7 separate regions of the Homo sapiens genome follow, and regions 1, 2, 3, 4, 5 and 6 are each linked to region 7. The links are contacts of gene promoters, found by promoter capture Hi-C in blood cells and fetal thymus (Javierre and others, 2016). All regions are on one chromosome and are shown on one strand. The core of a region is centred on a gene start or on the middle of the fragment in contact, and the rest is flanking DNA. Distances in the headings are between cores, read along the strand shown. Region 1 has its middle 230 kb from the start of PHF14. Region 2 has its middle 200 kb from the start of PHF14. Region 3 has its middle 250 kb from the start of PHF14. Region 4 has its middle 350 kb from the start of PHF14. Region 5 overlaps PHF14 (PHD finger protein 14). Region 6 has its middle 380 kb from the start of PHF14. Region 7 holds the start of NXPH1 (neurexophilin 1).

The links. The method cuts DNA at HindIII sites, captures the fragments that hold promoters and counts their contacts. A CHiCAGO score of 5 or more calls a contact.
Region 1: a fragment that was not itself captured here is called in contact with the fragment with the promoter of NXPH1 in region 7 in 10 of 17 cell types (naive CD4 T cells, naive B cells, total CD4 T cells and 7 more); the score reaches 20.2 in naive CD4 T cells.
Region 2: a fragment that was not itself captured here is called in contact with the fragment with the promoter of NXPH1 in region 7 in 6 of 17 cell types (total CD8 T cells, total B cells, naive B cells and 3 more); the score reaches 8.7 in total CD8 T cells.
Region 3: a contact is called between a fragment that was not itself captured here and the fragment with the promoter of NXPH1 in region 7, in 11 of 17 cell types (total B cells, activated CD4 T cells, total CD8 T cells and 8 more). The highest score is 26.8, in total B cells.
Region 4: a contact is called between a fragment that was not itself captured here and the fragment with the promoter of NXPH1 in region 7, in 10 of 17 cell types (total B cells, naive B cells, M2 macrophages and 7 more). The highest score is 22.2, in total B cells.
Region 5: a contact is called between a fragment that was not itself captured here and the fragment with the promoter of NXPH1 in region 7, in 1 of 17 cell types (endothelial precursors). The highest score is 5.8, in endothelial precursors.
Region 6: a contact is called between a fragment that was not itself captured here and the fragment with the promoter of NXPH1 in region 7, in 3 of 17 cell types (naive CD8 T cells, total CD4 T cells and total B cells). The highest score is 7.9, in naive CD8 T cells.

Annotation. Positions count from the first base shown.
Region 1 is chr7:11,202,381-11,206,595 of GRCh38, reverse strand. No RefSeq gene overlaps it. Among named protein-coding and RNA genes, the nearest start is that of PHF14, 230 kb to the right of the region's middle. The HindIII fragment of the contact is 970 bases long and covers 990-1,959 here.
Region 2 is chr7:11,171,384-11,175,594 of GRCh38, reverse strand. No RefSeq gene overlaps it. Among named protein-coding and RNA genes, the nearest start is that of PHF14, 200 kb to the right of the region's middle. The HindIII fragment of the contact is 1,839 bases long and covers 669-2,507 here.
Region 3 is chr7:11,223,167-11,227,175 of GRCh38, reverse strand. No RefSeq gene overlaps it. Among named protein-coding and RNA genes, the nearest start is that of PHF14, 250 kb to the right of the region's middle. The HindIII fragment of the contact is 5,086 bases long and covers 1-4,009 here.
Region 4 is chr7:11,321,833-11,325,559 of GRCh38, reverse strand. No RefSeq gene overlaps it. Among named protein-coding and RNA genes, the nearest start is that of PHF14, 350 kb to the right of the region's middle. The HindIII fragment of the contact is 4,116 bases long and covers 1-3,427 here.
Region 5 is chr7:11,152,080-11,155,962 of GRCh38, reverse strand. The region is part of intron 17 of PHF14 (PHD finger protein 14); the gene reads right to left. Among named protein-coding and RNA genes, the nearest start is that of PHF14, 180 kb to the right of the region's middle. The HindIII fragment of the contact is 3,820 bases long and covers 1-3,753 here.
Region 6 is chr7:11,353,981-11,357,971 of GRCh38, reverse strand. No RefSeq gene overlaps it. Among named protein-coding and RNA genes, the nearest start is that of PHF14, 380 kb to the right of the region's middle. The HindIII fragment of the contact is 8,274 bases long and covers 1-3,991 here.
Region 7 is chr7:8,431,050-8,435,031 of GRCh38, reverse strand. NXPH1 (neurexophilin 1) reads right to left here and starts at 1,423. Exons shown (of 3, transcript NM_152745.3): 1 at 277-1,423. RefSeq lists enhancers at 1-311, 312-859. The HindIII fragment of the contact is 6,580 bases long and covers 1-2,739 here.

The DNA.
Region 1 (4,215 bases), core at 225-2,724, 2.8 Mb before region 7:
CACCTGATGTGACTCGGCAGGAAACTTCCACCAAAACATACATATTCTCCATAAGCTGGTCATCCTCCTGTACACTTAATCTTCTCCCAACCAATCCTCCCAAAAGAAAATAAATATTTGTAGATTAAAGGAGAACTGCCTTCTCATCCTTTACGCTGCTGGTGTGCAAGCTGTTAAGCACAGAGTGTTTAATTAATGGATAGATACCATTAGAGAGACAGCTGGACCTGCATCCAGATGAGTTTGGATTCAAGGTGCCAGGAGATAAAGATCTGAAAGTGGGAAAGCTGAACTGCAATTGGGTTCATTTATAAAAGAGGCTGTTAAAGGTCAACTGTGTTTTCTTGTGCTAGAGATAAAGAGATGCTATTAAAAACAATTGGAAAGTAATTCATAAGGGAGCACTAAGTCACTCATGTTAAATTAATTTGTCTTTCTGATAGCATGGCATTCATGATGGGAAAGTAAATTTACCCCAAATCAAGATCTTTCAAAAACAGCCATTGATCATGTACTCCCTGCAAAGCCACTGGAATAAACCCCTGTGTGCCGGGACCACTGGTGCTGTGTGATCACAGCATCTCCATAGTTCACTGAAGCCCCTTCCCAGGCTGAGAATTAACCAATTATTCTGAAGGACAGCAAGTGCAGTGACATTTCTGTGGATATGCTGAGATGCCTGAGCCTGCTGATGTCTTTCTGTCGCCTCTGATGAACTAGTGGCCAAGCACCAGAACAACCCATCGTGCACAATTCCACTTTTCTGAAATTCAGCAATGTATTAGAACATTCTAGCCCACTGAGCTCCACTTACAACCCTCCCACCTCTCTGCCAGTACTACAACACACCCCATGTTCAAACATACACTTACCATGATGAAAACTTTTTAATTTATCCAAACAATATATTTACAATTATGAATGGCAGTTTAACTCCACATAGTGACATCAAACACTTTCTTTGATCATCTCCTCTTCAAGGTAAAGCTTTTCATTCAAACACTATCAACTGTTCTCCCCAGTTTCCTGATGGCAGCACATGTTATGACAAAGGGTGATTGCTTTTAGTGCTCAGAAATGCCAGCCTATTAAGACACATCTTCATCTTTCTCTGGGCAAGATAGAGATTGTGTCTATTTGCTGCCATGCATGGGGATGAGAGGGGAAAAATCCACTCCATCAGATTGTGATTCCTGTAGACATAACCCTGGGTATGACCAGGTTCTCTCTCTCTCTCTTTGTTGCCAGAGGAAAACTGCTTGTTGCTTCTTTTTCTTTCTTGAGATTGAAAACTAATTGGGGTCTTTCTTTATTTCCTAAAATCACGGGAATAATGAGCAATTCCCCACAAAGTTCTATTTATGAAAAGGTCTGCACTTCCAGGCATACACTAATTACAGCCCAGCATAGCGAGCTGCTCGCCATTTTCCCAGCATCAGTCAGGAGTGTCAGCCAAGGAGAGACAAAGAGAGTTACAGGCAGTTAACGTCTCCCATTTACCACTGCTGATCATTTGCAGGTTTTAATAACAGCTTTGCAATTCAGATTCTGCACCAAAAAGGATTTCCAGGTCAGATATCACAGGGTTTCTTCTGAGGCTGCCACCTTTGAAAAACTAGAGGCATGGACATGTTCAACATTAATTGCGCTAGAATTGATGCACCTTGCTCACGTTCAGACTTCACAAACATGACTTTAACAGCATGTGCTTTAGGCTGCAGTCAGTGGAGGGAACTCCAGAAATGCAAGAGGCAAGGTCATGAAGGCTCCCCTCCTTCAGTGGAAGCTAATGAGAAATAGCCCATCACAGAGGGGTCAAGGATACCAGCCACAACAACAGCTACCACTTACTGAGTGCCTGCTATACGTCATGGACTAGCCCACTTGTTTTACATACATTATCTCATTTAATTCCTAACACCACATTGGGAGATGGGAATTATTATTTTCATTCAAGCTTCCCTAAGATTAAATGCCTAGTAAACAGAGGAGATGGGATGCACTCATGCTCCTTGCTCTATGTTATGTGTCTGAAGTCATTTGTTGCGATCCAGAGTTTCCAATGAAACTATGATTTTAGAAATAACTAAAATGTTCGAAGTGCACCTTTTTTTGTTTTGTCTGCCCAAACTTCCTCTCATCTTAATTTAGCATCAGCACTCATGTCTTCTGGGGAATATTTCTTCCACCACATCCAACCAGCCGCAATGTCTTTACAGACCCTCCACTCCTCTGTCCTCACTGGATTCGTCCAGGGATGAACACCTCCCCGAGCAAGGTCACTTCCTAGGACCCCGCCCACCTCCCTAGCAACAACTGTTTGTGAGTGGGCATGTGAAAGAGTAATCATCATCATCACCATCATAACTAAAATATACTCGTGTTTTTATGTGCCAGACATTGTATATTTAACAACTTTTATTCTCACAACAATTCTATGCTGTTACCGTCCCCATTTTACAGAGGTAGAGAGAGAAATACAGATGGGTAGGTACCTCCCCCAAGGTCAGGTAGCTAGGAAGTCACAAACCTGAGACTTAGTTTGTATCAATTAACTATTGCCTCAAAAATTCTAGGTTTACAACTCAGCGGCTAAAAACAACAATCATTTATTTTCCCTGGTCTGGGTGTCACATGAGTGGCAGCTGGGCTCAGCTGTGCAGCTCTGATGATCTTGGCTGAGCTCGCTCATGCAATTAGGGTGAGCTGGGGGTCAGCATCTGCAGCCTGGACCAAGCTGGGTGGCTCTGCTCCACATGCCTCTTATCCCATCCTGGGACCTGAGAGCTGGCCTGGGCATGTCCTTCTCATGAAATAGCCAAAGAACAAAAGCAAGGCAGAAGCAGAAGAGGCCTTTGAGGCCGGACACTCTGCTATCTCCACTTCATCCAAACATGAAGTCAAGAGGTGGGAAATGTAGCCTATCTTCTGGGGAGAACTTACACAGTGAAAATCAAAGAATAAAGATTCAGGGAGAAATAAAGATTTGGGGCCAATGCCACAATCTACCTCATATCCCCTCTAATCCTACAGGAATTTCTCATCTCAAGCTGGGGAATTTTTCAGTTCCTGTGGGTAGCAAACATTATGAGATGTGAAGCTCTAAGCCTGTCAGCATCCACATTCCCCCGTGTGAGGAGGAAGACAGTCTGCCTTGGTACTGGAGAGCAATACAGAGACAAAAGACAGAAAGTCTCAGCATGTCCACAATCCTGGGACCAGCTGTCCTCCAGCCTCAGCCATGTCCCTGCCCTTCCTGTCATTGGGTTGCTCAAGCCTGCTTCTGAGGTCTTCACCCCAAACTCTTTCAAGTTAGTTTGATTTTCTGTCCCTTGTTACTCAAAAAGTCCTGGGCAACCCAATTCTCTGTAATGAATGAAACAAATAATAAACTTCACTAATTAATGTTACCATATGCAACACCCAACATGTATTTTGTGCATCTACTATTTGCAATGAATTACATTAGAAACTGGGGGTCACAAAGAATGGGTAAGATTGAACTCATTATCCCTGTCCTCAAAGAACTCATATTCTAGAAGACATAACACAGCCACAGCTTGCAACACTGCAAAATGGGCACAATTTGCTCCGAAAGGGAAGCACAGGAGAGGGTGGGATTAAAGTCTGATTTGGGCAGAAACAGGAATGCCTCGCAGAAGAGTTGGTGTGGGCTGTCAGATTCAAGAAGATGAATTTCTACAATCAGAGAAGAGAAAAGGGGTGGGTGGCAGTGAGAGGCTTTGGGTTGGGGGAGGATGGTGATGGCAATGGGCAAAGTCCCAGAGGTATACATCATTTGGTGATTGATAAGAAATATTAAAGAGGAAAGTTGGAAAGAAGAACTGTCAGTGTGCCTCTAAGAACTACGCAAGGGAGCAGGGCCTTGTTTAGTTGGCAGAATTGTTCTGCCCTCCTTAGCAGGCATTATGTCCCCAAAGCGCCACAGATTGTCAAAAGTGCCCCCTTGAGATTGTCCGACTCCTTTTATCCCGACATTGCACTTGCGAAGCAATCTTTTCATCATTATTTGGTTTCCCACATAGGCTGTCCTCTAGGGAAGAGAATGAGCTACCCAGCCTACAGTAAAACCCCAATCTTCTTGGCAGTTATTTCTTAGCATAAATTTTTAAAATTGACAGCCTAGTTTATAAAACAAACTCTTGGGAATACAGTGCATAGCCAGCACTCTTTATTTTACATGAACCCAACCTA
Region 2 (4,211 bases), core at 339-2,838, 2.7 Mb before region 7:
TCAAGGACTCCAGGCACTGGGGAAATGCCGAAGCAATGAAATGAACTTACTTCTTCTTTCTCAACGGGCTTCAAAATAAATCTGATGTAGCCATGTGAAAGAAGCAGTTGTAGGAAAGATTCCCCTTTTTTGTTTGGTATACATTCAATTTAAAGAGGAATAGTTTATTGCATCTGGGAAAAACTAGACAAATTTATAATGAATGTAGGAGAGTACAGACATATCAAATGCCTCCAACTGTTTAAGCTTAGAGGAAAATCATTAGTGTAAGGAATAATTACAGTCATGCAATAACTTGGATGAATCTCAAAACTTTATGCTGAGTGAAGAAAGCCAGACACAAAAGGTATGTATAACATAATTTCATTTGTATAAAATCTTAAGAACATTTTACAGAAAGAATATACATATATAAAGTGAGCAATAAGAATATCATTATCCCCTTTCAAAAAATATTAGAGGAACAAAACTACTCAGACTCACCTCATTCTATCTGGATGATTAGAAAGTCACAAATGAAAAATGACTATATCCTGAGAAGAGTATGTCCTATTTGGTATGGTATGTATAAAAATGAAACCTAAAGCAGTTCATAGACTCAAAATTGTTCATAGACTTAAAATTGGAGCAACTGGGCACACACCTCTGCTTTTCCCCTCATTCAAGCTTTCTAATCCCCAGGAAAGTAGATGCAATTTATCAGAAGATATAGCTATAATTTTATAATTTTAAAATTGAGTTTAAATGTATTTCTAACTGCAAGGGTCATTCAAAGACCATTAAAACAATGTGAAATCATTTAAAGACTTTAACTACATTAAATGTTTTCAAATAAGATATACACTATTTTTATTTTTTGCCTCTAGATATGAACTGACTAGTTTTTGAATGTTGGATTTGTAAAAAATTTTGTATATTGTTTAGTTTTTTTAGGTCTTTCATTAACATGTTTTATAGACAGTGATTCTAACATTTACACTGGTGCTATAAATATTACACATCAAATATCCCCCCTAAAATATCAAGGGTCAAACCCTAATTTTGTGAACTACACCACACAGCTTAGTGTGACAAATGGTTTCTGAAAAGAATAACCAGTATGAAGTGGGACTTTTACTTGAAAAGAAAAAGAAATTAGCTCCAGTTTTGGGCTACTATAAATAAAGCTGTTAAAAATATTCATGTGGCTCACGCCTGTAATCCCAGCACTTTGGGAGGCCGAGGCGGGTGGAACATGAGGTCAGGAGATCGAGACCATCCTGGCTAACAAGGTGAAACCCCGTCTCTACTAAAAAAATATAAAAAATTAGCCGGGCGCGGTGGCGGGCGCCTGTAGTCCCAGCTACTCGGGAGGCTGAGGCAGGAGAATGGTGTGAACCCAGGAAGCGGAGCTTGCAGTGAGCCGAGATTGCGCCACTGCAGTCCGCAGTCCGGCCTGGGCGACAGAGCGAGACTCCGTCTCAAAAAAAAAAAAATAATAAAAAGTTATTCATGTACAAGGCTGAGTACAGTGGCTCACGCCTGTACTCTCAGCATTTTGGGAGGCCAAGGTAGGAGGATCAGGAGTTGAAATCCAGCCTGGGCAACATAGCAAGATCTTAAAAAAAATTCATGTACAAATCTTTGTGAGGGCACATGCTTTCATTTCTTTTTGTAATATCTATTAGTGGAATTACTGGGTCGTATATTAAGGGTATGTTTAACTTCATAAGAAATTTCCAAACTCTTTGCCAAAATAATGTATCATTTTACACTTCTACCAACAATGTATGACGAGTTCCAGTTGCTTCATAACCTTACCAACATTTCATTATCGGCCTTCAAATTATAGCCCAGGAGGCCCGTCCAGTGGGAAAACAATGGAAACTATAATATATAAATTCAAATTTTCTAGTAGCCACAATTTAAAAAGAATAGTTGAAATTTATTTTAAAATTTTAATCAAATCTATTCAAAATATTATCATTTCAACATGTAATCAGAGTAAAAATTATGGATTTTTTTTTGCACTCTAGCTCCAAAATCTGATTTATATGTTTACAACACATCTCAATTGGGACTAGTCATATTTCAAGTATTCAATAGCTACACATTTTTAATAGCTGCTGTTTATATAGCTGATAACAGAGCTATAGACATTTCAGCGGGTATACAGTGGTAACTCATTGTGGTTTTAATTTGCATTTTCCTGATAACTAATGATGTTGAGTATATTTTCATGTGTTTTTTGGCCATCTGTATATATTCCATTGTAGTAGTATTCACACAGTATAATTGTAGTATATTCACACAATGAAAAGTACTCAGCAATAAGAAGAAATGAAGTCATGCAATAACTTGGATGAATGTCAAAACTTTATGCTGAGTGAAGAAAGCCACACACAAAAGATGTGTGTGATATAATTCCATTTGTATAAAGTCTTAGAAAAGGGAAAACAAATAAAGAAAGTAGATCGGTGGCTATAGTGGGGGTGTGTAAATGATTGCAAAACTGAAGGACAGAAGCTTTTCGGGTGATGGAAATGCTTTATATCTTGGAGAGGTGGTTACATGAATATATGTATTTGTTGAAACTTACTGAATTGCACATACAACATGAGTGAATTTTATGTAAAATATACTCCAATAAAATTGACTTAAAGAGTATAAACATTAGTGGTATCTACTACGTAATCTGTGAGGTCAGTGAAAAATAAAACCATGGGGTCTCTTTTTCAAAAGCTAAGAATTTCAAGACCGTAACAGCACAGTAAGCTTGTCTGTCATTGAATCCCCAGTGATAAGCAGAACAGTATATCTTATAGTAGGTCCTACTAAAGCTTTGTTGAATGATTTAAAAAACTTGAGCATCTTAGTGCCCAGCAATTTCCATTCAAGAGTAGCATAATATCCCTTCCCGCTTCTGCTATTTGTTCCCTAGACTGGAGGAAAGAGTATGATACTGGATACAATTTAAAAAACCATGCTTTTCCTAAATATGATAGAAACAAATACTCATTTAAAGTTCTTTTATTTTTAAATTCTTGGAAGGTATGAAGAAATACAACTCAAATAACTAGCATGAAGAGAAGATAGTTCGGTTCAGTAAGTAAAAATTATACAGGTATCATAAAATTCTTGTTCTTAGGGTATTCTACAGTGCAAGTTACAGGCTGACTTACAGTCACAGTGTTACACCTAGTATAGGCCAAAAAATGAGCTAGGTAATAGGGATAAAGAGGTAAACAAAACAGCTCCTTTTTTTTTTAGTGGTTTGTCTTCTTTAGAAATCGACTTATAGATAGATATCCCAGTTATCAACGTTTATAAGGACTCTCCCTAAATACATCTAATCTATATTGCCATAGACATTTCATTGGGATTTTGCTCCAGTGCTCCTTAACATAGCTCAGAATTATTATAACAGAGGTACTTGGACTTTATTTAAATGTATTATGAACTGAATGTGTCCCTCCTCCCCCACCCCATCGAAATTCCTGTGTTGAAGCCCTAACTCCCAGGGTAGCTGTATTTGCAGTAAGGATGGAATTAAGGTTAAGAGATCATAATCCTGATCTGATAGGATTAATGTCCCTACAGGAAGATGCCAGAGGCTCACTCACTTCCTCCCTCTCTCTGTGCGTGCACAAAGGAAAGGCCGTGTAGGATGCAGGCCATCTGCAAGCCAGAAGACAGTCCTCAACAGAAACTGAACCCTGCTGGATTTTGATCTGGAACTTCCACCTTCCAGAACTGTGAGAAAAAAATTTTCTGTTGTTTAAGCCACCCACTCAGATATTTTGTTATGGCAGCCTGAGCCGATTAATATGTAAAACATTCTATATAAAATATGAAACATTTGACTCAAATAAAGCGACTGGCTTAATCACAGTCACATAATCTTGTAGCATTCTAAGACTTATATGTGTATATACACAACATAATGGTATGAGCCCTAAAAATCTGAGTGATTCATACAGAAATTTTTCCTAAAGGAAATGTAAATTGATTTTACTTTATTACTGACCATCCTAAACCAAGGGGTATATATTTTCGAAAAACTTTCTGAAAAGGAAAACTGGGTTTTAAATGATCAAAGATACCATTTAAATTTAATATTTAAAATGCCTGCAAGGTGGCTAAGTGTCACTGTGACTCACACTAACAGTTTCATTTCATAAATGCAAGTGTGAAATGATGAGATAACAGCATACTAATAACTGAACAATCTG
Region 3 (4,009 bases), core at 701-3,200, 2.8 Mb before region 7:
TCCCTTTTCTATCCATGTCTCCCCATCAGCTATTTTCCCCATGACAAAAGCTGTGCTCCAAATTACTTATTGAATAAAAGACTAGCACATAAAGGAAAAGTTTAATCTCACCATTTTAAACTGAATATCCATGCCTTATCTTCTCTCCTTGATCAGCTCTAGAAGAGGAATTTCACATTAAATGTAACTGATAAAGTTCACTTTAAAATAGGCTTTTCTTGACTTAAAATATTAATACAAAGTAATCCATGCTGTTATAGAAAAATTAGAAAATTCAGATAAGCAAAGAGAAAAAAATGAAACTATCCATAATCCCAGGGCCTAGAGATAAATTGTTACTAATGCTTTGACATGGAGTGCTATTCACCGTGAATAATGCTGTGTGAACTGATGCCCTGTTTGAAGATCCATCAGGCATACACAGAGATTTGAACTGACACCACCGATGTCATCATCATCATCACAACTGTGCAGACTGATACTATGCCTTTCAGGAGAAGATTTTGGAATAACCACAGGAAACAAACAGTGACAATAGCAGCTTAAAAATGTCTGTAAACAGAACATGTTTTCTGGTTCTTTCTCTACAAAGTTTTCGGAAGTTATAAAAGCCCCTTTTGGACTGACTAAACCTATAGCTTTCATAAACATTTTAGAAGAAAGAGGGACTCTCCCACCAGCCTCATCCCCACCAAAGATGTACTGCATTTGCTGCTAATTTAATCATAGAAGTGATCAAATCAGACTGTATTTGAAAAATAAGAGCTGTGTTTTATTTGTACTTCAGGCTGGACTCATAACATAAATTATACTACAAGGATGACTGTAATACATCTTTGCAATTTAGCTGGCTTAACTTATATATTGATATGTCCCAAGCGTATAGAGGGTACCTGGTTCATAGCAAATAATTAACTCATTTGAAAAAGTTCTTGGAAGGGGAACTGCTACCCCTAAAGGCTCAGCTTTAATGCTTAAATTCATATTGTCAAAATACTCAAAATGAGACCTGAAATCAGTGGTAAGGTCCTTGTAGGTGAATGGCTCCAATTTACTTCTCTAATCCTCAATTTTATTTTTTCTCTCATTGGGTCCCTGAGGCTCCACTCACCATCAATAGATAAACAACTATAAAGATATTTAGGAGGTCTCCCAGCTAACTGTTTAAGAAATTATTTTCAAGGACTTCTATAGCTATTTCATTTTAATAGCTACTGCGTCAGGTACTCTACACTCATTATCTCATTATCTGATCCTGACAACTGAATGTTGTTATTATGTCTACTTTACAGACTAGGAGCTGAGGCTCAGAGAGAGTAAATGACTTGCTTAAATTTATATAGCCACAAAGTAGCAGAGTCTAGATTAAAATGCTAGTATACGTTATTTTAAAACCCATCCTCTTGATGAAAAATTCTGGAGACCTATTGTTTAGCGTGGTGACTATCATTAATGGCAATGGACTGTATACTTGAAATTTGCTAGGAGACTAGATCTTAAAAAAATAAGTATGTGAGGTGATGGATATGTTCTTTAGCTTGATTCAATTGTTTCTCAATGTAAACATATATCAAAATATCACATTGTATGCTGTAAATATATGCAATATTTATTTGTCAACTCTACCTTAATAAAACTGGCAGCGGGAAGGGAAGACATCCTTTCAACTGCTACCTGCCACATTTGACAAGGGACTTGTAAAACACAGATGCCTTCAAATGAAGGGAACGGAAATTTGAACTTCTACCATGCTCTGATTTTTATCAGATGCTAAATTGTGTCCCTTGATCACAGTGACTCCCTACAAGGCGGACCTTCAAACAGTAACCTAAAGGGAAGAGGCTCAACTGACGCCCTGCAGTTTATCAACAGCAAGCAGGAGAGCATTCCACCAGGTGACAAGGATGCTCTGAGAACTGGGGGCACAGAAACAGTCTCTGAACTTCCCAAGTATAACATGACAATTTTTGGAGAAATATTATTTTTTCCTACCAAAATATTAAACTGCTAAAATGATTGTAAATTCCAGCTTGACCCTAGGGTGTTTAGTGACATTTGTGAAGCAAGAAGTTTCAAATAAAAAGAAAATTAAGTCTGACTACACTACAGCCTTTTTTGTAGAAAAAAAAAAACTTATTCAATCATGTAATTGGTAATTAATATTTGGATGGGTTAAAAAAACACTGTTCAATTTTAAGGATAGCTTTATTTACTGATTGAGAAAAATGAAGTTACATTCTGGAATATAAACTAAATATATTTTCTATACAGTAGCTTGAAGCATAAATAGAGATAGTATGGCATAAATCCCATACAACAAAGTTTTTGTATAAACTTCTTGTTCTCCTCACTGAATAATCCTGCTGCTTCTTTTTCTGCTCAAGTTATGTGGCTCTCTTCTGGGAAATTCAGTTTGCTTGGGTCAGGTCAGCTGCAGTTTGAACTTTTTTGTAAGAGTCCACAGTCAGTTTCTACATATGATCTTGTTCTGTTTGCTTTATGCCTTTTTCTTCCTGCCTTAATGCTCTGCATGTCTGCCCAATAATTACATATTCCCCTAAACAGAAAAAAAACTTCTGCAATGCTAGACATAAGTTCCATTTTTTCATTTGAGCCCTCAGTGCTATAATTTTCTATAAAGTCTTCCCAGTTTAAGAACTAGCTAGTTAAGTAATTAGTTAACAATATTGAATATAAAGGCTCAGATACTTTTGATATATTATTTCTGTTATCAATATGAGCTGTCCTTTTTTGCACTTTTAGTGATTTTCATCTTGAATTTATTGTATCTATCATCTCAATTACTATACATGCTTTCTTTTTATAAACAGTTGCCTCATACATAAATATCTACTTTTCTGGAAACTTCTGAGACTAAGTTTTTAAGTCTGCAAATCTGTTGTTTAATAAACTTAATATATTATCATGTACTGCAATTACTAATATGTTTAGATTTATTCCTCTCTTATTTTGTGCATCCAATTTTCCATGATTCTTTTTAATTGTCTATCTTCTGTTGGATTGCTCTAGATACTGTAGTCTGGCTCACTGAACTCTGATTCCATCCCTCCTCTAGCTTGCCTTCCTGTTCTATAGAGTTTGTCACCCTGGAAATTGTGTTCCCAACCTCCCAGAAGCTGGATATTTACATGGGACCTTAGCTCTACCAAGCAGATGCTCCCACATGAGGCTCAGGACAGCAATGTGCAATCACAAGGGAAGGCCAAGTGCAAAGAGGTGATGTTTGGGCAAGCACAATGAAAGGGGTACCAAATTCCTCTGGGGGCTGTGGCAGAATTCAGTGTATGTAGTTCTTAGCATCGTAGGTGATAAGCAGCAAGCGGATACAATTGTAGGGCCTTCATGGCCCTGTGCAGTGATTTGGGTAAGTGCCCCTGCCTCTGACTGTGTTGTTCCTGCTGTACAGCCTGTTAACCTCATTCTCTGGCCCTCCAAGAGGTTCTGTGAGCTTTCTAAAGTCCTTTTATAAATCCCTTTCTGCTTAACCTTGATAGATACAAGGTTATCTATGCTCTGTCACTAAGAATCCTGACTGAATCAACTTTTATGTTTGAAAATGTGTTTACATTGCCCTTGTCTTTGAATAATAGATTCACTGGGTATGAAATAAGAGGTTCAGGTACATTTTCCTTCAGCATTTTCACATTATTCCATTTTCTTCTTGCACTTGTATATCTGTTTCTCATTGCAAAGTTAATCTATTCCTTCTCTCTAGAAGTCTTAACAGGTTTTTTCCTTATTCCAAGTATTCTGAAATGTGTCTGCCATTTATCTAGGTATGAGTTGCTGTTATTGTTCCCTTTACCCTGCTTAGTACTCAATGAGCCCTTTCAATCTGACATTTAATGCCAAGAAATTGTTCTCTTATTCTTTGCATGCTGCCATACCTCTGTTCTCTCTAGTCTTTTCTAGATCTCCTGATTGACTGATATTGGAACTTCTTGATGTATTACATATATTTTTAATTTTCTTTTATATTCTCCATGCC
Region 4 (3,727 bases), core at 120-2,619, 2.9 Mb before region 7:
GAAAACAGCACAAAAGGTTTATGTTCTCATATATAAATTTAATTATCTGCTTAACTTCATGTTATTTGATTATACTTTTAATCATTTCTTGAGCTAATTCATTGTTTTTGAAGAAGCAAAATATCTCTAACCATTTTATATTAAATACCAACACAAGCCAGCTTCTCATAAACTATTAAGTAAAAGAGATATTCAAGTCAGTTATTAAGAAAAACAATAGCAAGGAAAATATTAAGAAAATTAATGGCATATTATTCAAGCTGTAATGAGATACAAATTCACAGTTACTTTGGTGTTGGCCATTGTTTCTTATTTTAGCCATTCTGATAGGTGTATACTGATATTTTAATTTGATTTTCCTAATGCTTATGACGTTGGAAATCTTTTCACATCCGCTTTTCTCATTCAGTAAAGTATCTCTTCTTGACATTTGCCCATTTTCTTGTTTTTGTTTTACTGTCGAGTTTTGAGAGCTTTTGCATATTCTAGACACTAATCCTTCATCAGACATGTAGTTAGCAAATATTTTCTCCTAGTCAGTACCTTACCTTGTCATCCACTTAAAAGGGTTTTTCGCAGAGAAAAGGGTTTTTTTTTTTAATTTTATAAAGCTCAATTTATCAATTTTCCTTTTCTGGATCATACTTTTGGTGTCAAGTTTAACCCTAGATCTCAAAGATTTTCTCCTATTTTTTTTCCAAAATTTTATAGTTTTACATTTAAGTCCATGGTCCAATTTGAATTAATTTTTATACGAAGTATGAGACTTGCATCAGTGTTTGTCTATGGATGCCCATTTGCTCCAATATAGTTTGTTGAAAATGCTAGCTTTCATCCATCAAATTGCTTTTGCATCTTTGAAAAAAAATCTATCAGGCATAATTTTGAGGACCTGCTTCTGGGTTTTCTATCCTGTCCGCTGATCTATGTGTCTATCCCTCCACCAATAACACAGTCTCAATTACTGTAGAAATTCGGTAGACTGGTTCCTCCCAATTTATTCTTTTTCAAATAGTTTTAGCTACTCTAGTTTCTTTGACTTTCCATTTAAATATTAGAATAATCTTTATATATATACACACAAAAAATATTTCTGGAACTATAGGAGTTGCATTCAGCCTGTGTGTCAATTTTTGGAGAATTGACATCTTTACTATGTTGATTCTTCCAATCTATGAACATGGTATGTCTCACCAGTTATTTAGATCTTCTTTGATTTCTTTCATCAGTATTTGTAGTTTCTGTCTCCAAGTCCTATTTATGTTTTGATATATTTACACCTCAGTATTTCTTTCTCTTTTTTGGAGTAAATTTAAATGGTATTTTATTTTTAATTATGGCTTTTCTACATGTTTATTGCTGATGTATAGAAATAAAATAGATTTTTGTAGGCCTATCTTGAATCTTGCAACTTTGCTGAACTTACTTATCCATTCCAGGAATTTTTGTGTAGATTCCTTGGAATTTATACATGAACAATTATACCATCTTAAGGTAGGAACAGGTTTTTTTCTTCCTTTCCAACCAATATGCCTTTTAGTTCCCTTTCTTGTCTTACTCTACTGACTAGAACTTCTAGTACTATGTTGAATAATAAGAGCAGATACCCTTATCTTGTTGCCAATCCTAGGGGAAAATATTTAATCTTTCACTATTAAGTAAAATATTAACTGTGGAGTTTTTGTAGATGATCTTTAACAGATCGAGAACATTCCCCTTTATTTCTATTTGTTCTGAAAGTCTTTGTGATGAATGGGTGAATGTCCAGTGCTTTTTTCTGCATTGCTTGCTATAAGCGTAAGACTTTTTTCTCTACCATGCTAAAATGGTAGGTTGCATTAATTGATTTTCAAATATTGAGCTAGACTTGCCTTCTCTGAATAAATCCCATTTGTTCATGGTGTCTAATTCTTTTTAGCTGAATTATATTTGATAGTGTTTCATTGAGGATTTTTACATCTATGTTTATGAGGGATATTGGTCTATAGTTAGCTTTTTTCGGTTAGTAGCCATGGTTGAAATTTAAGCTGCATTCGCATCACCTGGAGGGCTTGTTCAATCTCAGTGTTCGTGATTTACATAAAATCAGTTAGAAATAATTTGCATTCATAAAAAGTTCCAGGTGACGCTGCACCTGGGTCTGGGTGGGGTCTGAGCTACTGCAATCCTAACAGCTCTCGTGTTCTGAGGCTGCTGATCCTGAAATCACACATAGCCCAGCAAAATTCTACAGCAGTGGCCCTCAAACTTTAGCATAAATGAATGATAGCATAAAATGAATTGAGAAGCATTTTCTTCTCTTCTAATTTCTGGATTACTTGATGTACAGTTGATGTTAATTCTTTTTTACATGTTTGCTAGAATTCCCAAGGAAAACCATCTGGGCTTGGATATTACTATCTTGGGAGTTTTTAAGTAATAAGATCAATTTTTTTAATAGTTACAGAGCTCTTTGAATTATATGTTTTATATTGGGTGAGTTGTAGTAATTTGTGTTTTTTTGAGTATTTGGCCCATTCATCTAAGGTGTCAAATTTGTGTGTGAAATCATTTCTTGTGGCCTCTACTAACATATGGGGAGAGTGAGTGGTCTTTCCACAAAAGGGAAGTCAGGAAAGTCCCAACACTCCTCTAGGCCTCCATCCAGGAGAGACAGAGGTGCCGGATTACTGCCAGGTGAGACTGAGAGTTCAAGATCCCCATGTGGTATCCACTGATACCATAGAGTGGGTGGGTCCTCATAAGTGCCTGGTAGTTATGAAAGTCTTGGCTCCCTACTTACCTTTCCCTAAGATGACCCTGAGAGCGGAGATGATGCACCTTGTCACATTCTGGTGAGGATAGAAGTCTAGATTCACATTTAACCCTTGTTATTGTGGATGAGGGTTGGGATCACAAAATTTCTGTGGTGTTTGGCTACGGTGCTGTTTTTTTCATCTAAGAGGGTTTTTAGGGTTTTATTGTTGTTGTTGTTTTGTCTTTCTGGGCTGCCCATTTCTTGGTCCTTTGGCTAGAGGAAGGAGGCTTTTATTGAGACTTCTGAAAATGTGTGCCTTTTGGTTTTTCTGGGCTGCCAGCTTCTTCAGCTCCAAGTCTGGGGTATATTAGGCAAAAAAGAAAATCCAAGGAACTTACTTCTCCATTATTTCTTGGGTCTTAAGATCTCCAGTAAGTCCACCTTCTTCTCTTCACCGTTCAGAGTCTCCTTATGCTTGTTTTATATGTAAGTCTGAGGTTTTAGTTGTAGTTAGTGGGAAGAGTAAAGAATAATACATCTAATCCATCTTCCCAAGAGCAGAATTCCTGAGTTTCTTTAAAAACAAAAATAAAAAAAAGTTAAACTGTAATTTTTTATAAAGAGTAATATGTGGAGTATATAAATTTTATAGCTCATATAAATCTATCAATAGATAGTAAATGCAAAGCTTCTCTGATTCCTTTACATAAGAATGATAACATATGATTAAACAGAGAATTTCTGGTTAATCTCAAATTATTTTTACTTACTTCAAAATTCTATAAATGTTGCTCCACCATTAGCATCTAATGTTCAACATTATGGAGAAAAAGATTGAGACCAGCCTGATCTCTCTACCTTGTCTTTCTAGATGCTCAGAGGATTCTTTGTTTACTATTGAAATTCAAACATTTCACTAGGATACGTTTAAGGTGTTGTTTTCCTGTTGACCAGTTTGTCTCATGTGCTGCCTTAGGATATTATTCATCT
Region 5 (3,883 bases), core at 594-3,093, 2.7 Mb before region 7:
TTTTCCCAATATTTCATAATATAGGCTATAAAACATAAGGACAAAATTATTTTATAAAATAAAATTTTAAAATATCTTACTTGAAAACAGATCTCCAGCAAGCTATATAAGCCATCTATTCATTCCTTCCTGATTGAACATCAACTAGCTAGCTATGTGTCAGGCACTGTGCTAGTTGCTAAAAAAAAACAAAAAAAAAACATTGTATATAAGACAGACACTGTCCCTGCCTTATGGAGTTTACAATCTGACTAAAACAATTGATCACTCAAGTAACTGTATCATTGCAATTATGACACATTCAATGGAAGAAAAACATAGTGCTATGTGACTTTTAGTAGAAGGATCTAAAAATTTCAGCAAAGTCCCCTACTCTCCAAAAAATGACTAATGCAATGAGACATGAAGGATAAGAAAGAGTTGGTCAAGCAAACAATGGAGGGAAGAATATTCTAAGTAAAGGGAACAGTGGGAAGGGTAAGTCAGCCAAAGCCCAGTGAGAAAGAGCAAAGTAGTGGAAAATAACACAGAAAGGTTGGGAATTCTGCTTTTCTGGTTCTAGCATTACACAGTGCTCATGGTTGGTTACTTCTGACATACTTCATATTTGTTCTGTTTCTTCTATGCAATTGTGTAGTGGAGGAAATTTGGGCTTTGTTGTCAGTGACTGGCAAACCCAGATTCAAATCCTAACTTTGATACCTACACTACCCAAAAATACTTTGAAGAAATCACTTAAACTTTTAGAACCTAGTTTTCTCATCTATAAAATGGCAGTAACTATTTTTGACGACTAAAATTATTAAATAAAATAAAATATGAGGAGCCTAGCACAAATCCTGGCCCACAGAAAGCACAATCAAGTCTATTCTTTCCTCTTTCTAGGCTTAACTTTACGACAGTTTTTAATCATTAATGACATACTGCTGTAGTGAAGATAGGTACCTACAGATAGATAGTAAGGATCCTCTTCAAAAACAGTGCTTTTTTTTTCTAGCTAAATAACCATCATTATGTTATTAAATAGAAGCCAATTCTACCTATGTCACTCTAATTTCTTGATCTTGCAATTTCAACTGTTGGTATTACAATATAATTGTATTATTCATAGACAGCAAGAATAAATAAATAAAGTGGGTGAATGATTACATTTAAAGACATTTGTTCCTAAGTAGTAATTAGGAAAAGGCTATTAATTAAATAATTCCTCCAAGTCACCCCACGGGCATCTGATTAGCATTTTTAACTGAAGTTCTTCCCAGAGTTACTCTATAGTCTGCATGATGTTGTCATTGTAGAGAATGTAAATTAATGCTCTTTCTCTCTGAATAAAGCAATAATGTTAGCATAATAGTCCAACTGATATGAAAACAATATTGGGAATCTAGGTAGGACCAATATAGGTCTAGGTAGGACTATTATTTAGAAGACTAAATAATGATTTGGTACAGAAATTAGACAAATATAGTTTATTAAATTGACTTAAGACCTTTTTAGGCATATAGTTGCTTAAACGAAAGCAGGCCATATTCTTACAAATACAAAGCATTTTTATCTTTGTATCTTTGATTTTTAGAAATACTGACTATTGGAATGGGAAGAGAAATTAAAAGTAATTTAATTCACCTTGAAATGATGTTTACATTTTGTTTTTCTTTTATACATGCAAATGTACAGACACACACACACATACTCAAGTGGATGTGATTTTAAATTGAGGAACTCTGTATACATAAATGGTAAATATCAGTATTCCTTAATATAAATACAATAGTAATTATTTAGTAAATAATAGTCCAAGTCATAGCAATGAAGTTTCACTGCAATGTAAATTCCATATAAATAACCTGGTTAAATCCATTAGTTTCTTTCAAATGTGTTTGTCTATCATTATCATGGTAGACCCTACCGGCGACATGAACTGATTCTGGATAAGACATGTATGGAAGCCTACAGGGGAGCTTCTGGGAAAGTATTCCTTATTCTTAAAACACACACACACACACACACACACGCACACACAGACAGGGACCACTTTCATAGGCTTGCCTCTATGTATTATAATGTGAGGACACAATACTTCGAGACTCTGTAGCCATCTTGTGGCCATGGGAGTAAGTCTAAGGTTGAAAGTCAACACACTGACAATGTGAGAAAACAAAGTCTTCTTTAATTAATCCTATAACCACCCAATTTTCTCAATTTTGAATATACAGGGTATGAAATATTAAAAGTAGGTGGGTTTTCTGTTAAAGAATCCTTACCAATGACAATATTGGCCTCTTAAATTTCTTCTAGTTCTATGAGTTTTTCCCTCTGTTTAATGCTGTCCTTAGAACTCTGCTATCCTTTGATAATAGTCATCTGGAGATGACTCTAAATGGCCACAAATGCCAACTACTTTATGATGACTTTCCCATTTATATCTTCAGCCCTCACATCTATACCATGCTTTAAACTCATATTCCAACTGCTACTTGTCTCCAATAAACTTTTTAATAAGGACCTCAAACATACCATGTACAAAGCCAAATTCTTGATTCCCAACCCTAAACTTCCCCTACCCCCACTAAAAAAGACTTATACCTCACTTGGTCTATAAGACTCAGTTGTTCAAACACAAACTCTAGGGGTCATTCCTTAATTCCTTCCTTTCTCTTATACTCTATAGCCAACTCCTGTTATCTTTATCACCCAAGGGTATCTAAAATCTGTCTAGTGCTTTCTATCTCCACTGCTACCATCTTAATTCAAGCTATCATGTTTCTTGCCTGTGGATTAATCCAATAGCTTCCTAATCAGCCTCCTTGCTTTGGTTTTATAATTGTATACCTATTCTTTATACAGGAGACAGTAATCTTTGTAAGACACACATCACATCACAATCCACCCATGCTTGGAACTCTCTAGTAGCTTTGTATTTAGGGTAAAATCCAAACTACTGCCATGACCTAGAAAGTACATCATCAGGCCCTTCTGACCTTTCCGGCCTCACTGAGTTCTCCGATCTGCTCACAAGTTCAGTTTCCTCACCTGGCTCCAAACATGCTGCTCTTCCCTCTGATTCCTGAACAAAATGCAGTAGGTGTTTCCTCTGACTTTTATTTTGTATGGCTCATTTTTCTTGTCATGCAGGTATCAGTGAGTGAGTTCTTTGACTTTATGCACAAAATCTGCCCTTCCTCCATCACTCAGATTGTTTTCCATAACATTTATTACAATAAAATGAACATCCACTTGGTTATTTACAGATTGTCTGTCTGCCTTACTAGAGTGCATGCTCCACGACAGCAGATTTTCTGTTTTTCTTATTACGATATCCTTATAAGTTAGTCTTATTCCTATCATATTGTAGCCTTTCAATGAATAGTTCTTATGAATAGTTATTGGATATATGAATGAATTCCTTACTATATAGAAGCATGGGAATCAAGTAAATAATAATTTTGACTTTTTGAGTACTTCCTATATACAGAATATATTACAAATATATTATTGTATATTATTAAAGGCTTGTATTTACGTTCGTTATTTATAATCCTCACAAAAGCCAGGCAAGATAAATATTATTGTTCCTATGTTCCAATGAGGAAATTGAAGATTGGTGACACTCAGGAACTGCCCTTGGTCACATATCCAAAAATATTAGAGGAGCTAGGATTCCAAACTCAGCTCTGACTATAAAAAGTATTCCCTTTTCAATATACCGTATGTACAGTTAGAATTGCTCATGATCAATAAATTTTAAAAGCTTCACATACTTTTCCAAAACAATCCAATTTTTGCTCAATGGATACTGACCAGATTATTATTCAGTTATCTTAAAAGGTCCTAAGTCTATCTTGCAGTACTGATCAAAAGCAATTTTCAAATCCAAAACAGC
Region 6 (3,991 bases), core at 710-3,209, 2.9 Mb before region 7:
CATTTTTTGTAAAATCAATTGGGAATATCAAAAGAGTTATAAACTTAAAATGTGTTTTTGGTTCAAGAAGATAGTGGGAAAAGTAATAAACTTTATAAAAAGCATTAATTTATTAAGTTAAATAAACTAAAATTGATATTTGATTGATATTTTCCCAAAGTGAAGAAAATACCACGACGTCTTTCATGTACCGATCAGGTTACCTGTTTCTACAACCTGAGAAAATAAAAGTAGTCTTCTTCCTTGGGTTGTTTCCCAAGAACTCCAACCACTCCTCACCTTTAGTCAGGACTGCTCCGAAGGATGCCCCAGCACATGCCAGCAATCCCAAAGCAAGCAGAATAAGGAAGTAAGACTTCAACCCCTCACCCCATTCCAGACACCCAAACAGATTCTATAGAAGAGAAGATTATGACATTTCACACATTAATTAGATCACTTCAATTTCATGGAGTTATTTCAGAGCGTCTGCTAGGTTCTGTGTAGCTGTAAAACAACCTTAAAAGGCTTATGGCATGCCAGACCAAAAGGAATGGATAGCGGGGACGGGTAGGGGAAGACCACAGTGAAAAGCATAAGCTATCTGATGCACCACTCTCCCTGGGTGCTCAAAATGTCAAAAAGGCTCATGTATAGTCTTGGGGAGACCTCCAAGAGAATAGATTTAGCATGCCCATATACTCAGATGTCATCATGGTACAGAAACAACTAGGAAGAAAATAGATGATCTTAAATACTGAATTTTTTTATCCCAGAAAAAGTGAACAATGCTTAAGGAACAATTAAAATTATTAGATCAGATTATATTTGAAATCAGATAGTATAAAAAGTTAATTTTTCTCAGAAGTGAGATGAGCTGTAAGCAAAATAAAAATAATGAGGATTTAAAATTTGTTGAAGTTTAAAATTTATAAATCTGTTAGAATTTGTTACATCAACACACTGAAATAAAAGCCAGTCTTCACTGACCAGTGGGAGTGTTTCCTATATTTACATATTAAGATCCAGTTCCCTTGAGGCTTTGATTGGCAGACTTAAAATTAAACCATAGTAGTCAATTGTAAAAGGCTTCTCTTTGTGAAATTTTCTCATAAAAGTGTACTTGTTAAGAACAAGGAGTCTGTGACCTCACTCCCTGGATTAAATGTTGAGTTCTGCCACTTACAAGCTGTGTAAACTTGGGGAAATTAATCTTTGTGTTTCCATTTTCTTGGTTTTAAAATCTGGATAAAATTAATATCTTTTCTTTTGCAAAGTCTTTCTACTCCTGCTATATCCTACCCTTTTAAGGTGGGCAGAATATGTGACTGCTTGATCAATGGCATATGGTAGAAAGGATTCTGTGTTTAGGAGACTGATAGCTTCCACTTTAACCCTCTGAGAGCATTTATTCTTGGAATCCAGCCACCATGCTGTAAGGTCTCAAGTAGCTCCATGGAGGCGCCATATGGAAAAGCACCAAGCCTCCAATCACAGACAGTGGCTGAGCTACCAGCCAATAGCCAATACTAACGGAACGGACAAGATGAGTGAGTTGTCTTAAAAGTTGAGACACCTTACCTGTCTTCACTTCAAACAGAGATGAGCTGACCCCACCAAACTATGCCTATATCACAGGTTTGTGAGCCAAATAAACTATTGTTGTTTTAAGCCACAGAGGTGTATACAGTTTGCTATTCAGCAATAGAGAACCAAAACAAAATTTGATACCTAGAATTTACAAATGCCTAAAACATGTGACACTAACTTTGTCACCAGGCAGCAGGTGGAAGCTCACAGGGTCTTGGGAGATTTGCTCATGAAAGCTAAAGTGGACTTTTCCTAACTTCAGATAATTGTGGACGTTGGAAGTCATGTTAGGACCATAATTTACCCCCAAGTTTTTGAAACATAGAAGCTCCAAGTAAAAATAGTTTAAGGAAGAGGAAAAGAGATCAATTACACTAGAATATAATCAGCTGCTTTGGGTCCAGTTTAAAGGGTTATAAAATGGGATCTGTCAAGAAAGTCTTAAAGTTCTAGAGATTAATTAACATTGAAATAGAAGTGGCTGAGATTTGCCAAATAACTCTAAATCACCCAGAGTTTTTCTCCTCTGACAGGACAATAAAACTCGTGCTTAAATAGCAGCAGGAATGCGACAGGATAAATTTAAAACACACTTGGCAATAGACTTAAACTTGTAAGTTCTGAAAAGGTAGCATAAATCTGTCACAGTTGCTCTGGGGGAAATCCTGACAAAATGTTCACAGACAAACTAGTTGACCTCGGTTTTCATTTGTGTGCTTTCAGCTGCAAGTAATCCTAACTCAAATTGCTTAAGCAGTGAAGCCATATATTACTGTGCCTAGCAGGGAAACCAAGACCACTGCAGGACTGACGGGCTCCCTGGCTCACTTACATCATCACGGATCCAGCTTCTTGGTACCTCTTGGTACTGCCCACATGTTATCAGTGAGAATTCATTCATGTGACTATACCCAGCCACAAGGCAGGCTGAGGAATATAGTCTCTGATTGATCAGCCATGTCTCTGGATGAAGTAAAAAATATATTTAGGGGAACAACAAGAGTCCGGAACAAAGAGTTTGTGGCAATAGCAAGCAACACTAAACTCAGCTTCTATTTGCTTTGCAGGCTATATGGGAATAGTGCTCACTGGTGTTAACTGGAGAGTCAAAAACAAAGGCAGTTGAGACTCTGATGAATCTTGATCCCCCAGAAAGTTGAATAGTAGATTTACGTTTTCGGTAGGCATAGTTGCTGGAATGAGAACACGGGACTCGTGCTCAGCTGGGAATCCTTCACATGGTAGTAGGTGGGCCCATAAATGCCAACATTCTCACATGTTCACTCAGCCTAATAATAAAAAAGCAGGGTGTTCCTGCTCTAAGCTCCTGTGACCTAGAGGATTCTCAGTTCCACATAGACTGCATTGACCAAATTTTAGGTGGATTTTGTTGAAGAACAAGAGAAGCAACCGGGAGCTATGTCTACTTTCTTTTTTCCTTACCTAGTTATTTGCACTGGTTGGGGTAGAACCTGAGAAATCACATAAGCCAAGAAAAAAAATGGCATTCTTGAAGCCATGAGCAGGCCTTGGTAACCTGGCCTCTCTCACCTGCACAATGCTCTCTATCCACTTCAGAGTCAGCATTACCCATTCTCAACTTGGAGTGAAATTACATGAGGCATTCAGTGAAAGAGATGAAGCTAACCTGGTCATGTCTAACACCTGCAAGAGGTCTTCACAGCCCAGCTTCTGAATGAGTTACCTTTCTATCTGAGAGCCACTACACCAAGCTGCTACTTTCCATTCCATCATTAAATAAAGCCTGTTTGGGATTATTTTATGTTTTGGATTAATTTTACTACCATTCCTTTCTAAGTCAATGGTTGAGTACACAATATGTAATGCAAGATGTTATCTACATCCAGAAATTTTAACAGCCATGGAAATTCAATGTGTATTTCCCAAAACACATAATGAAATGCCTTAAATTTTGAAAAGAAAAACTAGGGCCATATAACCACTTATCTCACCCCAACCATCTCCAAAAGAGCCATATCTAGCACCTCCTAATTGTTAATTTCTGTGCCTGGCCCTTATCAAAAACAATAGGAGGGAACCCAACTGATTATACATGCATTTACTATTATATCTTGGTTTGATTCCCAGGAAAGCCCCTTAAAAAAAAGCTGGTTATGTCACACACACACACACACACACACACACACACACACACACACACACACACAGAGAAAGAGAGAGAGAGAGAGAGAGAGAGTCACACATGTATAAACACACACATTTCATAGATGTCTCATCTTTAAACAGATTGACATCAAATTTCTTTTAAGACAATGGCAAACCCCTGAGGGTTTCAGTACTGAAGTGTGTGATATATAATGTCAGCCTAAGCAAATTAATTATTATACAACACTGAAATTTATACAGAGAAGTGAGGTGGCAGGGCAGCTGCACTGTAAAA
Region 7 (3,982 bases), core at 174-2,673:
CAGGAAAGCAGGGATCAGTTTACCCATTCGAACCCCTGGCGCACACAGAGATACCCACGAATGCTCACAGTCACATCTCTAGCACTACTTTTTTCGAGCCAAAGGGTACAGCCGGTCGCTAACTTCTAGAGAAGAAGCCTCCTCCGAGCTGTGAGGGTCACCTGCCAGGCTTGTTCTCTTTCCTAACCAGCGCCCCTCCCTGCCGTCCCTTCCTCGTGCCCACCACCCCGCTCCCAGGTGTACCCTCCGGGAACAGCGGAGGCAAAGGGTACGTACCGCACAGGACTTGGGGCGAATCCTGCGAGAAGGGACCGCTCTGGGCAGGCTCCATGGAGAAGCTACTCGGGCCTGGCGTCTCCAGCGCCCCGGACGTGCCCTCCCAGGCGCTCCGTCTCCATGCTCGAGCGCAGACGGGTCCGGCTGCCTCGTCCAGCTTTGGCGGAGTCGCCGTCCCAGTGCCCGGGTCGCGCTCAGGATTGGTTCGCGGGAGCCAAGGCTTGGCACAGTTGGATTCACGGTGCAGGAAACTTAAGAGGCAAGAGAGGGAGGGAGCAGTAGAGGAGGAAAGAGAGGAAGACAGAAAGGGAGGGAGAGCAAGAGGGAGGGAGAGAGGGGAATGCGCCGGGCTGCTGCACCGGACGGACTGGGACTGCCAGCGCTGGCACCCGGACGAACAGTCCAGGACTCTCGGCTTCCCACAGCTGCCTGAGGATGGTGGAAATGACTTAAGGGGAGGAGACTGAGCAAGTCCTCTGGACTTGAAGTGGAGAGATAAGACACTGGCCTTTCGGAAGAAAAGAGAACCACACGGCAGACGAGAGCAGTCCGAGTTTCTGAGGGAGGGGTGGGGTGGCGAGAATCTGGAGCCTGCGGCACACGGAGCAGCTGTACCTCTACCCGCGACGCTGGGAAGCCCAGGAGCCGGTCCCCAGTGGAGTCCCGGGCGCTGTCCCTGGTGCTGCCCGGCCACCCGGGGACGCTCTGGAGCGCTTTGGGTTTCCGGCGGCCGCGGTGGTCGTGGTTTCTCCGCAGAGCCGCGGCTTGGCACGCCTACCTTCCTGACACGGACAATTACTTTGGCACGTGGGTGAATGATTCCTCAAAGACTAATTAGTACCCTGTGTAAACAGATCCGGCTCTCAGGCTCTCGCGGGCTGGGCCCACAGGGACAAGTGGCTCCCGCGGTGTCTTCGGTGGCCGCAGCGCCCCCTTCCCGGGGGGCGTAGGGAAGATCGCAAAGCCCAGGGGAGTGGCGGGAAGAGCAGCCGGGAGTCGCGTAGGGCGGGGAAGGGCGCGGGAGGGTGCAGGGCGCCCCTGCCGGCCTCGAGCGCCGACGCCGGGCGCCTCCGACCTGTGGCTGCCGGGCCGGAGGCGGGGGAGCCGCAGACTGCCAGCCATTCAGCTCGAGACAGCCGAGAGGACTGGGCGACCTTGGCCTCTGGACTCCTCGCCGCCGGCTGGGCTGAGCGTGAAGGGGGAGGAGGAGGACGGGGGATGCTTCGAGCCGTCACCACCTCCCTCGCTACTGACACCTCCCACTCAACCAGCGTCTCCCAGACTCGGCCTCTGTGCTCCGACTCTGGCTGTCTCTGTCTTTCTCAGTCTCTCCCTTACTGTCCCTATTTCTCAGTATCTTTCTCACTCCCTCTCTCTCTCTGTCTCCTTCTTCTGTCATTCTTGTGGTCTGCGTCTCTGTCCCTCAGCATCTTTCTGCCTTTTTCTGCCTTTCTGTGTGTCTCACTCAGGATTTCTGACTCTAGGTCTCTGTATCTCTGTGCCTCTACCGTGTCCCTGCCATTCCCCCTCAAACCCTGTTTTGTTTTTTGTTTTTTTTCCTCCACCCTTCCAGTGCACCACCACCAGAGCAGTTTCACCAGTCTCGGGAGACAGCCAGGACCAGCTTCTTCTGGTGCTGGTGGGGTTGCCAGTGCTCCTTGAGCTTGCCCAAATTCAGGGCACAAATCGGAACCCGGAAGAGGGTATCTCTTCCCCAACCTTGCCCATTGCATCTCCAAGCCTGCCCTTCACCAGAGCCTCTCCTGGGGTGATGCACATATCCATATCAATCTGTAGGAATTGTATGGAAATTTATCTCAGGAACCTGAGTTAGTGACATCAAAATCGAATTGTGATATTTAATGAGTCTGGAATGTCCTTTCCTCAAGTGTGGCTGTGGACACTCTGGCAGGTCTGGGCCTAGATACAATGTACACTCTAGACAATAGGTCCCAGGCTGAATTCCCCTGGATGATGGAGACCACCCCTCAAACAAGGCAGTGACAATCAGCAGAGCCACCCAGTCCTGCAGCAGAGGCAAGAGGAGCCCCACTGAGACCTTCCCCTGGAATCAGATCTCCAAAGACCTCCAAATTAGATCCCCACTGTAGAACATACCTACCAGCACTTTGAGGTCTACACTCTCCCTTCCAGCTAAAAATAACTCTTTAAAGAGCAAGCTCTTCTAATCTTAAAAGTTGTACTCTGCTGCTGTGACCTCCTGGAATTCATTGGGGCATATGCAGAATAAAGCAGTGAAGCACACCTTCTAACTGTGTCTCTGAAAATCCACTTCAGAAAAAACGCACATGTACATATAGCATAATTACAATGTTTTCTTGACTATTTTCACTTACCAGCTATTTCATTTTCTTAAAAACTTTAAACTTTAAAGAAGAAAAATTAAAGTATTGGGGCACCCGTATCTGAGGCCAAATGGTCAAAGCAGGGGCAAAAAAAGCTTTGTCTAATTCCATCCTCTAGGATTCATAAGGCTATCCTAAAATTGATTCCTATTTGTACAGGAGCTCCCAGGCCTCCCAGACTGGAGTGTAGAGCTGGAGCAAATGTTGCCTGCCTCTATCTGGATTCCCAGCTACAATGCTGTCAGAGCTGAACTTCTGTCTGACCTTTGGGAAAATGAGAAAGAATCCGGCTAGCTTTGGAATATACCAAGTTCTTTTCTAAACCTTACTTTAAAAACATTCTGCTTCTAGTGCCATTTAGCCTTAAAAAAATACTGCTTGTGAAATAGAAAGATGATCAGAGACCTTAAAATGTCTGTCTGAATGGGACTGATTATTTAAGAAAAGCACCACAGGCACCTAGTAATGGGAACAGGTTTGACACTTTGTTCTATGACACAGGATGCCAAAGAGCTTTTTCTGTTAATGACCTGAGATCTTCTGCCCAGACATTCAACCTTCGCTGGATCCTATGAGATACTTGGCCTGTGATATAAAACAGTGGCGGATTGTCATTTTTCATATTTCACAGGGGTCTTCATCTCCTATAATACTCAACCAGAAAAGGATACCGAGCCACCAAGTAACACAGAAAAATGTATCGTTTCTGCTAAACCACTCCAGTTTTAATAATATAATATTGGGGGAGAAGTGGACAAGAATGGTTCATTCACCCTCCTTTTTTCCTATCATTTGCTTTATAAAGAACAATGGAGCAATAAAAGCATGATTTTCTTACATTCTTCTGTTTCAAGTAGTATCCTACTCTAAAATGCACTCTTAGAATACATGAACAGTCAGCTTCATTGAGTGAGAACAAAAGTGTGATTACCTTAAGAAGTATAGTGTTTGTACCAATTTTTACTGACTTTACTCATGCTGAAAATTCTTTCAGAAATACTGTTTCCAAACTTTGTGTGCAATGCAACTTAATACAGATATAAACTTAGTATGAATGATAACCACTGTAAAACACAACCCTCTGCATCTGCTTTTCCCCATGTCTACCTGGTCCAACCTGAAATGAACAGTACGAGAAATAATATAGATCTTTGTCTCTAAGAAATATATTTTTAAAGGGTTAAAATGGGCTGCATCAAAAGAAAATAGTGAAATTAACTTTCCTGAAAGTTAAAACCAGAAGAAATTAAACTAGAATCTTCTGACATATACTGATAGTTCTGTTAAATGTAATTATCTATTTTGGTTTGGTTCATTTGTATGATTCTCTTTTTTGGCAG